Linked DNA regions of Homo sapiens: region 2 is linked to region 1. The links are contacts of gene promoters, found by promoter capture Hi-C in human tissues and cell types (Jung and others, 2019). All regions are on one chromosome and are shown on one strand. The core of a region is centred on a gene start or on the middle of the fragment in contact, and the rest is flanking DNA. Distances in the headings are between cores, read along the strand shown.

The links. Contacts are between HindIII fragments. The study calls those that stand out against the background at their distance.
Region 2: a fragment that was not itself captured here is called in contact with the fragment with the promoter of CNTN2 in region 1 in 2 of the 25 tissues and cell types used here (bladder and spleen).

Annotation. Positions count from the first base shown.
Region 1 is chr1:205,039,644-205,047,242 of GRCh38, forward strand. CNTN2 (contactin 2) reads left to right here and starts at 3,569. Exons shown (of 23, transcript NM_005076.5): 1 at 3,569-3,751. RefSeq lists enhancers at 3,263-3,407, 3,355-3,499, 7,566-7,599 and cis regulatory regions at 3,335, 3,427. The HindIII fragment of the contact is 16,049 bases long and covers 1-7,599 here.
Region 2 is chr1:204,960,049-204,967,647 of GRCh38, forward strand. All of the region lies in intron 8 of NFASC (neurofascin), which reads left to right. Among named protein-coding and RNA genes, the nearest start is that of CNTN2, 79 kb to the right of the region's middle. The HindIII fragment of the contact is 5,464 bases long and covers 444-5,907 here.

The DNA of each region.
Region 1 (7,599 bases), core at 2,319-4,818:
ATTGAGCACCTGCTGTGCTAGCTACTTCACGTGTAACTCAACACTCACATCAACTCAGTGAGGTATGTGTCTTCATCCCCATATTCTGGGTGAAGAGGTATGTGGCTTGCCCATGGCCTCACATCTCCTCAGTAGCAGGACTGGGTGTCAAACGGGTCTGTCTGCAGAGCTTTTCCTTATGGCCATATCAGTTTTCCCCAGAGCTGTGGATGGACAGTCCTGTTACCACTGTCACACTGCTTCCAAAAAGGTCACTGGCACTTTGAAGACCGCATCCCCTGGCTCTTGGATCCCTACATTCCAGGCAGAGGAGCTGCTCCATAAATACATGGCCTCCTGGGAAAAGGGTCTGGGCAAAGATGCTGGTGGCGGGAGAGGCCAGGAAAGGAGAGGTGAGGCGGGGGAGTGGTGAGGAAAGAGACAGCAAAGCTGCAGCATCCTGGGGCCATGGCAGGGTCTCATCTCCTCCCCACTTGTCCCCAGGGATGGGGCCTAGAGGTCCCTTCTTGATCGGTTAGAGACCCACTGGATTCCATTGCTATCAATCTTGTGTGGCTACAGTAGGAAGAAGCAGATGGTCTGGGCAGGGTTGGGTGGCCCTCAAAATGCTTTCTGATCCCCACCCACCACCACCAAGGGAGCACCACATGTTTGCGGACAAATTTATAAGCCATTTGACTAGCCACCTGATTATCTTCACTGGCCCTTTCTTGCCCTGTTTGAAAGTCTGTGGGGACTCAACTTTGAGATGTGGAGTCCCAGCTCTGGACAACATGGAGTCATATTGATCAGCCACAGAAAGGAGAGGTGGCCCTTATGGTCAGCTGCACTGAAGATTGTGGGCTCTGGATGTCACCAAAGAAGAAGAAACTGTTCTGCCCCCTATTTTGCCCACCTCAAAAGAACAGACAGTAGGTAGCTGGAGTCCATGGCACGGTGGCTAAGCCAGGATGCTGGAGGCCGATCCCAGGCCTCACTCTGTCATCTAGGCTGGAGTGCAGTGGCACGATCACAGCTCACTGCAGGCTTAACCTCCCAGGCTCAGGTGATCTTTCTACCTCAGCCTCCTAGGTAGCTGGGACTACAGGTGTGCACTGCCACACTGGCTAATTTTTGTGTGTTTTTTGTTGAGACGGGGTTTCGCCACGTTGCCCAGGGTTCCACTTGTTTACTATTTCTTTTGAGCAAGTTCCTTACTCTTACTGAGCAACATCTGAAAAGTGAGGATAATAACAACATGGACCTCTTGCGCAAGTAATTCAGGTAAAGCATTTAGCACAGCTCCCGGCATGTGGGAGGCATTCAAAACAGATATTATTTCTGTTATTATCAAGCTAATGGGCCCCACAAGCAAAACTCAGCCTGCACCCCCAAATGCCCACCCCACTCTCTCCTCAGGAACAGGAGCATCTCAGAGACTGGGAGTGCAGATCCCCCTAATCTCCCCAAACTCATTCATACTAGACTTCACTGAGAGCTTCAGACAAGTGAGAAGATGAGACTTTGGGAACTGTCTCCCCATCCAAGTCTAGGCTTGGCAAATGTTCTTGTTTTCACTTATTGTGTCTGCCAGAGTCCACATGGAGCATGCTGGTTGCATTGAGATCTGAGAGTCTTTAAGACCCAAGTCACCTGTGCTAACGACCCTCCCCAGAGACCCAGCTCCCACCACAGGGCAGCAGCTGTCCTAAAATAGAGTCACAAAGACAGCTGTCTCCGTCTAAAGCAATCCTTGCAAGCATTTCCAGACTGTTGGTTCCTGGGCCAGCCTATTTCCTGGCCCGTCAGCCCCCTGCAGCAGACATAGCATCCTTTTCTTGGCAAGGACTTGTTCCTGCCGTTTTCTGCTAGGAGAGAACTTGCAGAGCCTCTCTTTGGAGCCCAGGCTGACTTGAATGGTGCCAAAGAGCAAGGTTCACCTCAGGAGCTCAGAGCCAATGTGCCAGCCCTCAGACATACAGATAGGCAAGGACAGTGTGGGCAGGGGAAGGAAGGGAAAGATATCCTGGCAAGGGGTTGATGTGTCTGTCTATATAACAGCATTCAACATTATTTAAGAAACATCATTAGCAAAATCCAAGTCCTCCCCATCAGGAACAAAGAAGACTATCTCTCAAGTTGGGCAAGCCCTTTGGAGGGGCTCAGAAGGAAAGGAGGGGAGCGCATGTGGGACCTGGGCAGACATTCCAGCCTTGGAGGCTGAGCAGCAGAACCTCCCCGACTCCTTCTCCTTTTCCAGACCCTCTCATTCTGGCCCAGGTCCCCAGGACCTCCTCCACTCAGGGAGACATGGAGCCATGATCCAGGCTTGACAGGTATAGCCATTTAAAACTGGGAGGCTGGCCTGGCCCTGCCAGCTGTTGCAGCATCTGGACTGCTCACCGGTCTTGCCTGTGCAAGCTGGACAGCAGGCAGATCAGAGGGGGGTGAGACAACAGTGACAGCCTGACAGGGCCGACTGGTGCCGCAGATGGCTGGTCCCTCCGCCTCCGGGCCACAGCCTTCCTGGGCACTCCCCCACGTGACCGGAGCAGGGCAGGAGAAAGGCATCGCTGACAAGGGTGAGCACTTAGAATCTCAGAGCTGGCAGGACTGTGTCCATCTTTAATCCCTTCAGGTACCAGCGAGGCTCAGAGAGGGCAGGGCACCTAGCCAAGCACACACAGCCAGTCGGTTGTGGAGCCCAGAGTATGCTTCAGACACCCAGACCCCTAATCCAGGGAGCTTTTCATGACATCACACTGCTGGTTGCTTAAAAATGGGATTGGATCCAAACGTACTGATGCGTAAAAGTGTCCAAGATCAGTTACACAGTTAAAAGTCTTTGGCCAATCCTACTGTTTTATGTAATCACATTTGTGTGAAATAACCCTACTAACCCATGTAATTGTATACACGAAAATAATAAACCTGGGGGCATGTACTTAGATTTATTAAGAGTAGTGGTTGAGGGACTTTCACTATGTATTTTTAAATGTCCTCTAATATTTAGATATTTTGACAAAAAGCTCAAACTACTTTTGAACAAGGGAAACAATAAAGAGGAACATGGGGTGGACCGGGCAACAGAGACAGCCCCTCCCTGCCACTTGCCCCACACAGCAAGCTGGGATTTCTGATTTGGATCTCTTCCTCGGATAGGGGATTTCTGGGGAAACCAGGAGTTTTGGCTCCATGGGTCTCCAGGGTTTGAGGAGTAAGAGCCACTTTCTTTTCCCTCTTCACCCCGCCCCTCTCCTGCCCCTTCAGCCCTGGGCAGGGGGACTAGAAGTGGGGCTGGGCAGGATCGGGAGGGCAGGCGGGCCAGACAGCGCCCCGCGGCCTGTCCATGAGCGGCCCATGCATTATGGAAGACGCGCGCTGGGCTCGCTCCCTGGTCCTTAAATGACAGCAAATGAGGTAAAGCCAGGAGGGTGGGGACGGAAGTGGGGTGGGAGGGGGGCAGAAGGAAGCCATCTCCAGGGCCCCCGAGCGTTGGCTGAGGACCAGAGCCAGCCAGTGAGCGGAGCCTGGGAGAGGGAGGAGCACATCTTGATGCAGAGATGCTGCAGTGGCTCCGGGCGCGCTCACACACACGCGCCCTCACCCGCCACCGCCGCCGCGGCCGCCGCCGCACCCGGACAGCGAGCGGCTGAGGCCGCCAGGGCCCAAAGGACAGCGGCCCAGACAGGGGCTGGCGGCCCGGCCGGCCCCGGCTCACCGACTCGGGCAGCATCCACCTGCCCCAGCCAACACCCTTCTCTCGCCCCAGGTAGGTGCCAACCGCTTTTGTCTCCTCCAACCCAGGGACTTCCCTGCGTGCTGTTATGGGCCGGGGCTCCCGGCTCAGTTCCTGTAAATATCCCCCTTGTAACTTGGGAGGGAACAGGGACAGGAACACTGGCAGGCTGGGGCCGTTCTGACTTCTCCCCTCAGCCCCAGGGTGGGTGCTGGGGCTCCCCTCCGCCCTGTCTACGTGGGCGGCATCCCGCAGGGCTCTCTCAGGCCGAGCCTGGCCGAAAAGCTGGACCCCAGGAGTGTGTCCAGGAATTCCAGTTGGCCAGCGGGCAGTGGCAGCTGCCTGTGGAGAGGGCAGTTTCTCCTGGGCCGGCCCTGGGCACCCGGTCCAGGACAGGACCAGTCCATACAGCCAGGCCCTGGGCCCTGGCCTGCCCCAGAAGTCCCTGCATGGAATTGAGCCGGAGTCCCCAGTTTTGAGGTCACCCAGGGTCTACCTCTGCAGGGTGACCTCTTTGCAAAGTCTTGCTTCAGCTGGATGGAGAGGGGGGCTGTGGAAGAGAGAGGGGAGAGTGGAGCACAAGTTTGGGCAAGGGCCTGTCCAGGAACTGGGACTCGGGGAGGAGAGTCCTGAGGCCAGTCACATCCCAAAGGGCGAGAGGCTGGGGCTACCGGGCTGAAATTCCTTTCCTTCCCTTCCCCCTCCCAACCTTAGCTTCTCCTCAAATCCCTCCCCCCCATCCTCACTGGTGGGAGGGAAGAATTTGCACAAAGTTTGGCTTTCCAGTAAGGAAAGGGGCTGGGGCCAGAATGGTATGGGGAAGGGAAGGGGCAGAGCTGGGGAGTTCTGGAAAGAGAGGGCAATCCTTCTGCCCAGCACCGTGGGGCTTACATAATGGGCTGGAGGTGGGGGGCAGCCCCAGCCAGTGAGTGTCCAGAGCTGAATCCTGTCACCTTCTCCAAGAGGGTCTCTCAGGTCTGGGAAGCAGCGGGGCATGGAGAAGGCAGTGCCTATGGAAGGGGAGAATCCTGCTGCTACTTGGGGATGGAGACGGGCACCCTCTAGCCCCAGACCCCTGGGGGTTGAGCCTGTGTCCTGGGGGGGGGGGTCCAGTGAGGCCAGGAGGGAGTGGGGTTGTGCATGCCATGGCCCCAGCCCTGGAGAAAGGTGGGTTTCAGCATCTTTTCCCTCTGCTCAGAAGGAGCTGGGAGGAGGAACAGCCCAAGAAACCCAGTGCACAGGTGATGTTCTGGTCTCGTCTGGGCAACAGTTTCGGCCTCCTCTCCCAACCGTCTGGCCAAAGACGCCTCAGCTCACTTAGCCTCCGAGTCTCTCTACCTCCTGGTCCCACTCAGAGGGGCCGGATGAGCCACTGGAGATCGAGTGCAGCAAAAGGTGGGCCACCTGTGGGAGAGGCTGCTGTGATCGCACCTGGACAGGGAGATGGCCTGGAGGTCACAACAGGTGCCCTCACTCCTGGCCTTGGGAGAAGGGAGCTCTCCCCTTAAAGACAGCAGCATCCAAGCCCCTCCCCAGGGTGCCCACCAGTTAACCCCTTTCTAGCCAAGCTGCAGAACCATGGACAGGGCTTTTGCCACAAGGTCAGAGTCCTTCCTAATCTCCCGTGGAAGTCCTCAGCGAATAAGAGGGAGGCAGGAGGTGAGACAGACAGGAAAGGGCCCCTGACCTGATGATGTCAAAGTCACCCAAGGTCCACCTGCCTCACAGGTGCAGAGACCACTGTGCTCACACCATGAGCGGTGAGGGAAGCAGAGGCACACTCCTTATGCAGATGAGTGCCTCAGACTCCAGGAGTCTGCTCTCATTCCCGGCTCTTTCTCTCTTACTCTCCTCCCTTCCTCTACTCCTTCTTTCCTCGCACTCCCTTCTCTCATCGCGTGTACTCCACCGGCTTCAGCCCTCAGCCTCCCGCCGCCACCATTTCCCCTGCCAGATTTCACTCCTTATGCAACTCCATTCCAGCACCTTCTCTGCCAGCAGTTGTTCAAATAGAGACACATGTGGGATGGGCCTCCGAGGAATTGTGCTTAACGGGGTGATTGCACATCTCGTCTCTGGCTGACCAAACTTACTCCTTAGGAGCATGTACATAGACAGGTGTACCCCAAGGCATCCTTTCTGCCTCTAAAGTCACCAGGGAAGCAACGCATTTGGGGTGGTTTGGAGGATGCATGGTGCCCTCTTCAGAAACCTCCTTGAGCCAAACGTTGGTGAGAAAGCGTATTTCAAAGACAATCTCTAAGCCTGAGTGTGGGTGGTATTTGTATTTTTGGAGGGATTCCTAGGGCAGAACCAGGGGGTTGGAGAAGAGGTGATTGATATGCAGGGGAGGAAGAACCAGAGCAAAGAATATGCCAGGGAAGCCAGAGGGACTTAAGTTAGACTGCAGGAGACACTTCCTGGCTAGAAGAGTGAGCCATGAGGAGGTGGGGCAGTCTCCTTTCAGATGACTCTAAGGATGGTGTGGAGAACTGGGGTCTGGTCCAAGGTTAGAGAGTCCTGCCTAGAGGCAAAGGTTGGGCTGGCTGACCCTGTAAATTTCTTCCAACTTCTAGTAATCCTCTTTCAAATGGTAAAAGGTGGATGTGACTCAGGAATCCATAAGAAGGCAGACATCCTTTTCATCCCCTCATGCATGCTGGCCACCCCCTCATCCTTCAGGACTACAACCCCAATCTAAACAAACCACCCAGAGGCTGTTGCTAACCTGGAACATTTATGGGAGTTTCTGTGGGCTCCGTATCCTGACGGTAACCATCCTAGAGTAAGTCCTTTCTTAGTTTGATGATTCCTTGCTACAAGATTAGCCCATGTTTCTTTGTTTACCAAAGAGAATGCAAACAAAAGCAAGGAGTGTGATATTCTCATCCAAAACCTGAACACCTCCCATCCCAGGACACACTCAGGCCCAAACGCATCTCAGTGTCCTTTTTACCTAATGAGACATTCAGTTCACTACGTAGGTGGGGAAGTCAACCCCAGCCCCTCACACACACCCATCTAGTCAAACCTGCTGGGCTTCCTCCAGCCTAAGCCCACATCTTCTCAGTGCCTGCCACCCTGAACACCCTGACCAAGGGGTTCTCCCACCCTGTGCCTGGCTGGAGGGCAGCCTTCCTGCAGTGCTGCCCAAGAGGTGAAGTTAATCTGGACCCCAAATCCAAAGGAAACTAGCTTGAGAGGAGGAGCAGGTTGGACCTCACCCCCACCAGGCTTAAGCTCTGAGCCACCCTGGAGGAAGCTGTCTAGGAACTGGGGGGAGCCTCCTTGCAGCAGAGTTGGGGGACAAGCAGAAATTGCTCTGCTAATGCACGAGGAAATTTTCTTCCTGATTTGCTTTTTCAGAAACAAGTTGAAACCATTGTTCTTACGCCTGGCATCTCAAAAAGGGATCCTTCTAAAGCCCTCACTCACTGCCTCACACCACACACAGAGCAGGGCAGGCAAGTAGGAAAACCTAAGGTCTGGGGGTGGCTGGCTTCTGATCCTGAGCTTCCCAGGAGGATGGAAGCCTCTCTTCTTCTGTCCACTCCCTACTTTAAAGGGTCTCTCTGTTAGAGTAGGTCTCTCTTGCAGGGGCAAAGACTCTAGGCTCAGATCAAGGGCCAGACTCCCCCCTGCCCAATGCTAGAAGATCAAACAAATCCATGAGCCTGGGAGCCACAGCTCTCCCCAGAGGGCACGTCAGCACCAGGGCTGGGCCTCGGGGAAGCAGCTGCAATCACAAAGAGCCTGCAGAGAGAGCTGAGCAGCTCACAGAGGGGACTAAGGAAGGACGGGGCTGCACGACACCCCTGGTCCCCATTGGGGCTGAGGAGGTCCCTATGTCCCCATTTCTGCCCTAAGGATGTCTCCAGCTC
Region 2 (7,599 bases), core at 1,926-4,425, 80 kb before region 1:
TGCTTAAAATAGCACAGTGGTGCTCTCTCTACTTTCCTGTCTGGAGAGGACACAGGCTTTCTCTTGTACCTTCAGAACCAGGTCTGGGGTGGGAGGCAAAGCAGTCAGGCAGGGGCAGCTTCAAAGGCCCTATTCTCACCAGGCACTCCTGTCACAGTTTGCCCATTTGGGAAGAAATAAATCTCATCATGTCCCATTTTTATTACCTGCATTGAAGGAAGTTGACAATGGTATGTAATGCAAAATACTGGGTAATCTGAAATCATTTTTAAAACCTGGGATGCAGTCAAAGATAAGCAGTGGAGTTGGGCTACAGAGCTGGGCCCGTCCCACTCTGCCTATGCTGTAACAGGTGCTGGGTGCCTCCTGATGCAATAAGAGGCAACTGTGGTAAGCGAGGAGGGTCCTCCCTAAGGCAGACACCAGGGCACACCCCTTCTTCCTCCAGTGTCTAAGTGACATTCTTGGAGCAGTCAAAGAAGTTTCCGTGAATTTCTCACATGTGCTCCAGAATTCACAAACCACGAGGTCAGTTCTGGGCGTGGGCTACTTCTCTGGAGAGAGATAGGTTACATTTCACCTGGTGATATGGGAGCATGAAGGAAGGGCCCTGTCATCTGTATGTGCCACCATCCACCCCCAGGAGAGGAACAGAGTTGCCTCCCAAGCCCAGCTGCAGCCCCCACCTGCCCTTGGGCCACCCCATCTCTTCGTTACATTGTGGATTTATTCCTGCCTTTAGCTCCAGATGGACCCAAGCAGACTTCCCAAACAGGCTGGGTCTTTACAACAAACCCCATCTTAAGAGAGAGTTCTGAATAATGAAAATCTTCCTACCAGGTGGCAAGCAGATTTGGGATGCAATGCAATGCCAGTCCCAGAAAAGGACTCTCATACTTCTTGCAACTAGTTGTAATGGGATTGGATCTGTCGACAAATATGCAAATGTTTTGGCAGAGCCCCTGTTGTCCCTCGAGCAGTTGGACCATGTTCTTGCCTCCTCAGGGCCATCTGCTTGGCTTCCAGTCAGCTGTATACCCCACCCCCTTTTAGTACTGTCACAATTTGAACCCAGTTGCTGGAAGGGACCAGAGGTAGAGAGGGAAAAGCTCCTTCAGGACGCTGGCGTGATGATGTGTCCTCTTCTGAAATGTCTTTCTCATTAAGGAGTAAATGCCCACGAGTTTGAATTACCTAACATTGGAACTGAAGCCACTGATCTTGCTCCATAAGGAATGTCTTCAATCCTGCATAGTCTAGAGAGCTTCGAACCTCCAGAACGTTCAGGAGGACTTTCCTAGTCTGAAATGTAGAACTCACAGCTTGCACTTTCTCCTGTCCCAAGCTCCAATTCTAAATTCTAAAGCCTGAACCTCAGGGATGTTCTCCCCACCTCACTGAACCTCTCCCGGCATCCTCACAAGGAGGGCTTTCTGCCAACAGAGACATCTCCAAGATCATAGTGGTGCCCACCTGGGCAGACTCCAGTGACACATGTTGCTGGGTGTGGCCAGGGCCCCTTGGCCCAACTCTTTTGGTCAATGACCTCCTCCCATTTACCACCAACCTCCTGCAGCTTAGCTTCTGCCCAGGCAGCACTTTGCTCTTCCCCGGAGCTCACTAACACTCCTTTCTCTTTAGCTGCTCCAAGAGCTAGCCTGACCCAGAGTCCTGGGAACTGAGGATTTTGATAAGAAGGAGTTGTTCAAAAGATGGCTACAGGACACCACTAATCCTTCTCTCATTTGTTTGAAAATATAGCAGGACCAATTAATTAAAGTTCAAACCTAATTTCTTTAATTTTAAAAAAACCATTACTGTATTATTGCCTTCTTTTGCAGGATTTAACCTTTTTTTCTCCTTTTGTGGGCTGTTTTGTGTTGCTTGTTCTTCACTGAGCGTATTGCCTTTCCAAATATGCCGTGTCTTTCCTTTGCAAAAGACCACTGCTGCCCTCCTCAGTTGTTTTTCTGGCTTTGCATTTGTTTTCTCTCCCCGTTTATGCCTCTGTGACTTCTCCGTGGCCTCCTGTTTGCTCACCCTCTTTTGTTTGTTACAGACCACCCTTATAATGACTCGTCCTTAAGAAACCACCCTGACATGTACAGTGGTGAGTCGCAGCGGTAACCTTGGGAGTAACCTTGCCTGTGCTAACCCCAGTTTGCCTAACTTGACTGATACCACGTCATTAACTCCTGCTGGGTGGCAGCTGGCCCAGCCAGGGTGCCAAGGTGACACCTCCAGAAGGCTGCCTGCCAGGAGGCAGTGTGGGGGTTTGAGGTGGCTCACCTGGTGGTGTGGTCTCCTCTAACAGGCATGCCTCAAGTTGCTGAATTCTCAACAAGTTGTTCAAACCAGGGTAGGACTTCAAAAGAACTTCTTGAAAAGCAGGAACTTTTACTGAAAAAGTAGAAGCTTAGGAATCAAGAATGGATGAAGGGAGACTATCTTAAAATAGGTGAGTTCCATAGTGAAGAGAAAACAGGAAGTCTGGTTCCTATTGGTAGTTGAAAGAACACAGAAAGCTTGTTAGTATGTTCAGTTAACTCTAGATAGGAATTGCCTGCTTTGTAATCTCACCTTAGTTACCGGGAGTACCATTTCACAGTGAGGTCCCGTGTCTCTTTAAAATCCATCTGGGCAATAGGAGTAAGAGTCCAGCTCTGAGTTCTCTTTCAAGATGAGTATAAATGAGGTGAAACCATCCACCGTACCCTCTCACCTAGGCCTCTCTCCTCCTTTGGTAGTATATGCAAATCAAATGCCCACCAGTCCACACTTGCGAGACATGGAACAATTACAATGAGGCATGGTTTTAACTCATGACACAGCTGGTTGCTCAGTCTGATTAATAGGGTAATTGGCTATTTCCACACCTGAGTTACCCCTCACCATGGCTCAAGAATGTCTTATTTTCCCTGAGCAGCCAGAGGCACCATCATTTGCTGGCTCTGGTGAGGCAGCTGGCCCCCATCATTAGTTATGCCTCAGAAGCTGAGGCTGCAGGTCCTCAAGGGACCTCACTGTGGGCTGAAACAGATAGGAAGTGTCTGCACTGTGATGTGCTAATACAAAGGATGATGAGTGACTGGAGAAGGGGATGGGATGAGGGAGCGCGAGCCAGGGAGAGAGGCAAAGGCTCTAACTTGGCACCAAGCAGCTAGAACCACACTGAGATCCTGCCAAAGAGATTCACTACCCAAGGAATCAGGGGACCTTTGTTGGATTCTAAGCATTGTTTGTTTTCAAGATAATGGGGCCAACTACTATTGTGTTAAGAGCCCCAGAGCCCTGGTATGGAATGGGCCTTGTTCTAAATCGGATTCCAGGTAATCTGTTATAGGAAGTATTCTGTAAGCCTGAGTGCATCAGAGCCAGAAGTTCCCTTAGAGACCATCTGGTCTAAGTTCCTCACTTTATGTAAGATAAGCCATACAGGGGAACGTACACATAGAGTTGTTTTATCAATGGAATAAGTTTGAGTGATTCCAGTCACTTAAACCAGTTTGTGACCATTGATCAAACTATTATTGCAAGAGAATGAGTGGGACTTATGAGATCCATCCAGGACTATGAAACAAGCAAAGCTTACAAGAGTTTACCTGGAGATTGACCCCTTGTCCTCAATCCAGGGTAGGACGGAGCTGACCCAAGTATGAAGCTGCTGGAAAGGATATAAAGTCAAAGGGAGACACATTTTGAACAAAAGACAACTAGGCTGATGCTTCTAGCAAGAAATCAAAGGGAAATGGAAGGAAGGAGGATGACTTCTTTCTGGAGTGCAGGCATCTGGACAGAGAGACTTGATGAAAAGTGCCCAGGGCATCTGTCTGTTTGGCTCTGAAATATGGCACGTCTCTTTTGTAGCAGGAGGGCCACCCCATACTTCTATTTTGTTTTAGTGATTTCTAGAGTGGATTGGTATCCTCTGAACACTGCTAGGTGCCCCCTGACCTGCTGAGTGGCAGGAGAATCTGGTCTGAGATTGTAACTTGCCGCTTAGGATTCAGCCAGGTGAGGAGACCAAGTGGTTAAGAGTGTGTGCTCTGAGGTAGACTGCCTTGAATTAAATCCAGGGTCCGGGACATACCATTGAGTGATGCTGAGTAAGTCATTTAGTGTCTCAGAACTTTAATGTTCTCATTTGCCAAATGGATGTATTACCTGTCTCATAGGATTGTTGTGAAGATTAAACAGGAGAATGTGCTTATGGTTCCTAGTATGTGTTGGGCACATTCTCGATACTTAACAAGTGTTACCCATTACTGGTTTTAAAGGGAATGGTTTAGTGTTGACTGTATCCTGGATAGTTCTTCTATGCTTCTGAAATTAAGAAGGACAGACAGAACTTAAAGAGAAGCCAAGGGGCAAAAAGCAGGTGCAATTATAGGAAGAAAGTACCATAGAGGGAGAAATTGTAGGGCAGACCAGAGAAACAAAAGCTGTTCAAATCCTCAGCTGTGCTGAGAACTGCATAAGAAGAAAAGCTCCAACTACTGCATATGAGGTTTGGGTTAAACTTACAGGAGAAATTTCCTGGTACTGAAAGGTATCAAATATTACTAGACAAAGAGTTTTTCCTATCTTCTGGGGTTGTTTGGTCAGCCATTCCTAGAGCAAGAGAGGTGAATGAGATGCCAAGAATCTGGCCCCATGAGTCTCTGGTTCTCAGTTCTGAGAATCGAAAGCAGCAAAGTGGTCTGGATGAGGGATACAGATGCCCCTAAAAGCTGTTTTTGGTAGAGGTCCTCAGATACGTCTGATTCATTGAACTTTCTTGTCCTGCTAACACATAGCACTTGACAGAGGGGGGCAACTAAGGTTGTCAGGAGTCTTGATGTTTCCTCAAAAGAGATGATCAAGAGGCATTTATCGTTGGACCTTTAAGGCCAACATGGTTGAGGCATTGTCATCTCCTGTTGTCTGCTAGCTGACCATATTTCCCCAGAAACCCATGGACCCACTCTGAGCCACAGCTTACGAGAGCAGGAGAGGACTGACTGTCCCTGGGCAAGAAGTCAAATGAGCTGGCGAGGGAAGCTCTTCCTGAATCCACACAGATATGAGCTTTAGCGTATGGACTCTGAGTTTGATCAGGCATTAGGTCAGACCCCACTCTGAAGATCAGGGCGAATAACCAATACTCTCCAGGGATCCCTGCCTCCATGATGAAAGAGGGTGTCCCATGATAAGATGAGACAGTCATCTGCCACCATTTAGAGTTTCATCTAGTAATCACTGTTGTCTTAGAGTCTTCCTGTCTCTACTTCTCCAGGGAAGGAAATTAGGCACCCTCTTTGAGAACAGTGGCTCTCAAAGCCACCAGCTCTAGTATCCTTCCTAGATTTTCATATGAGTTCCTCCTGCTGCAATTGACTGCATTTCTTCATAACCTTTCCTTTAGGGCCAGCCATCTCATTCCTTAATGATATTATGTCCCCCAAATCTTCTTCAAGTTTTCCATGCCTTTAAGAATCCAACTGAGGTGCCTTTAGAGCTGCTGAATTCCCTCCTCAGCTTCTTTTTCTCCACCTTGGGCCCGAGTTTTTTTTAATAGCCACTGAGGAGAGGTGGGATCTTAGCTGAGACAGTGAGAATAGTAAAACATAGTGGAAGAGTTTCACCAGAGCAGCTCACTAAGACAGAAATATCTTTCTCCTTTACCTCTTTTGCCCTTGCATTTTCTTTGGTTTGAATAAGAAAGATATTCCTGAAGCTGACTGTCAGAAGTAGGAACAAGTGGGATGCCCATCTTTAGACAGAGAGGCAATGTAGAGTGGGTGGAAAGCACACGTTTTTGGTGCTAAATGGCACAGAATCCAAAACATAACTAGCTTGGAACCTTGGGCAAGTCTGTTGACTTCACTGAGCCTCAGTTGCCTCTGCTGAAAATGGGGATACAACCCTCCAGGTTTGCTGTGAGGATTAAGCATAAATGGTGGTGTGGATGGAGCTGTCAGCACAGTGCATGGTCCCTAGCAAACGTTCACTGAATGGTGGCCCTGATTATGACCTCCAACTTTTAGGATGCTCTTCTCTTTTTTTGAACTTTGGCTTGTTTCCAGTAGCTTCTCCTTCTTTAGGATAATTCTATTGTTGCTAGCCCACATCCTACAAATGCAATATTGCTGTAACCTCTTTATAGTCACAGCTACAGTGTGTCAAGGCACCCACAGCAGAACTCTGTGCTAAATTTTCCTCCTTCCCATCATTATTGCTTTGCTGGGTTGTGCGTGCTGGTGGTGTCGCGCGTTATGGTGTAAATTAAACGTCCATAGGGTCACAGATTGGTTTCTGCAGATTTCCTCCCAGTGTGGAAGGAGTATGACGACTTAGCTGGGACCTACCTCTTCCACAGAATCCCAGGGTTCCCAGCTCTTGACGGATTCACCAACCTGACAACAGAGCCTTCTGCCCTAGAATCTCCTTTCCTCATAGTGCCCATGTGTCTTGGTTGTTTTGGTGATTCCGTGATGGTGGGTGGGAGGAAGCTGTTGGTGTCAGGCTTCCTTGGTGCTGAGAATTGGATGCTACAAGAGTTATAGACATAGATGATAACCAATTAACCACATAATGGATTAACCCCTTCAGTAGTCACTGTTGTAATGTGTGTGCTGGTGGGACAGATGAGGCATCTACAGAAAGAGAAATAATATGGGTTAAACTGCTGCCTTATTTTTTGTTCTCTTCTTCCCCTCCAATCCATTCACCTTATAAACCTTCATTGAGCATTTGCTGTATGCCGTGTATTGTATCATCAGCCTCGTTACCCTCTGCATATGTTTCATCCTTTCTTCTTTTGACAAAAAGATAAAATAGAAGCAAACTCTATGAATTGCACTCCACCAGTGCCGAGGGAGAGAGTTGAGTGCCCCAGAACAGGAGCCCCGCCGGTGCAGCCAGGCCCCAGCAAACCCAGCAAGCTCCTTTAGGAAGCACCAGTTACATCTGGATAAAGTTCCCCCGCACTCTCTCCTCACGCTACCAGCACCGATTAAACCCTGGATAAGTGTCTTCATCCTCACCCCAGGTGTCTCTGAGGCCTCCCAGCTCCTGGCAGCTCTGCCTCCCCTCCACCTTTCCCTTGTCCTGCTGAGTCTAAGACCCCATTAAACCCATGGGTGGGCTCAGCTTCTATTTTTGTTTTTAGCCATTCCTATGTACGATCGTACACCTTGGCCAGGGGGTACTTCCTCCAGTTTCCCTTTTGCCTTGGGGTTTCTGGATGGAAAATTCTCGTTCTTTTCCCTTCCATCTTACCCATTCCCCTAGAGCTATACAAAGAGCTCTGGGGGAAGAGGTGAGGCTCGGGGAAGGTGGAATTCACTCTGTCATGGGTGGGCCCATGCTGGCACAACCCTTCTACAGGGAAACAGCCATCCTGAAAATGCCAATCTCTGTGAGCCACCTGGCCTTCAAGACCTGCATGAATCTCATTGATTTCAGACCCATGACTGTTCCGGCCTAGTTGCATTATAGATCATCACCTCCTCCAACTTGGCGGCCACTTTTCTCCCACCCCCTCCCCGAGCAGCTCACATGTAATTACTACTCTCCTCCCCAGCTGTCTTCCCGAGTCATTAGTGAGGAGGCAGAATG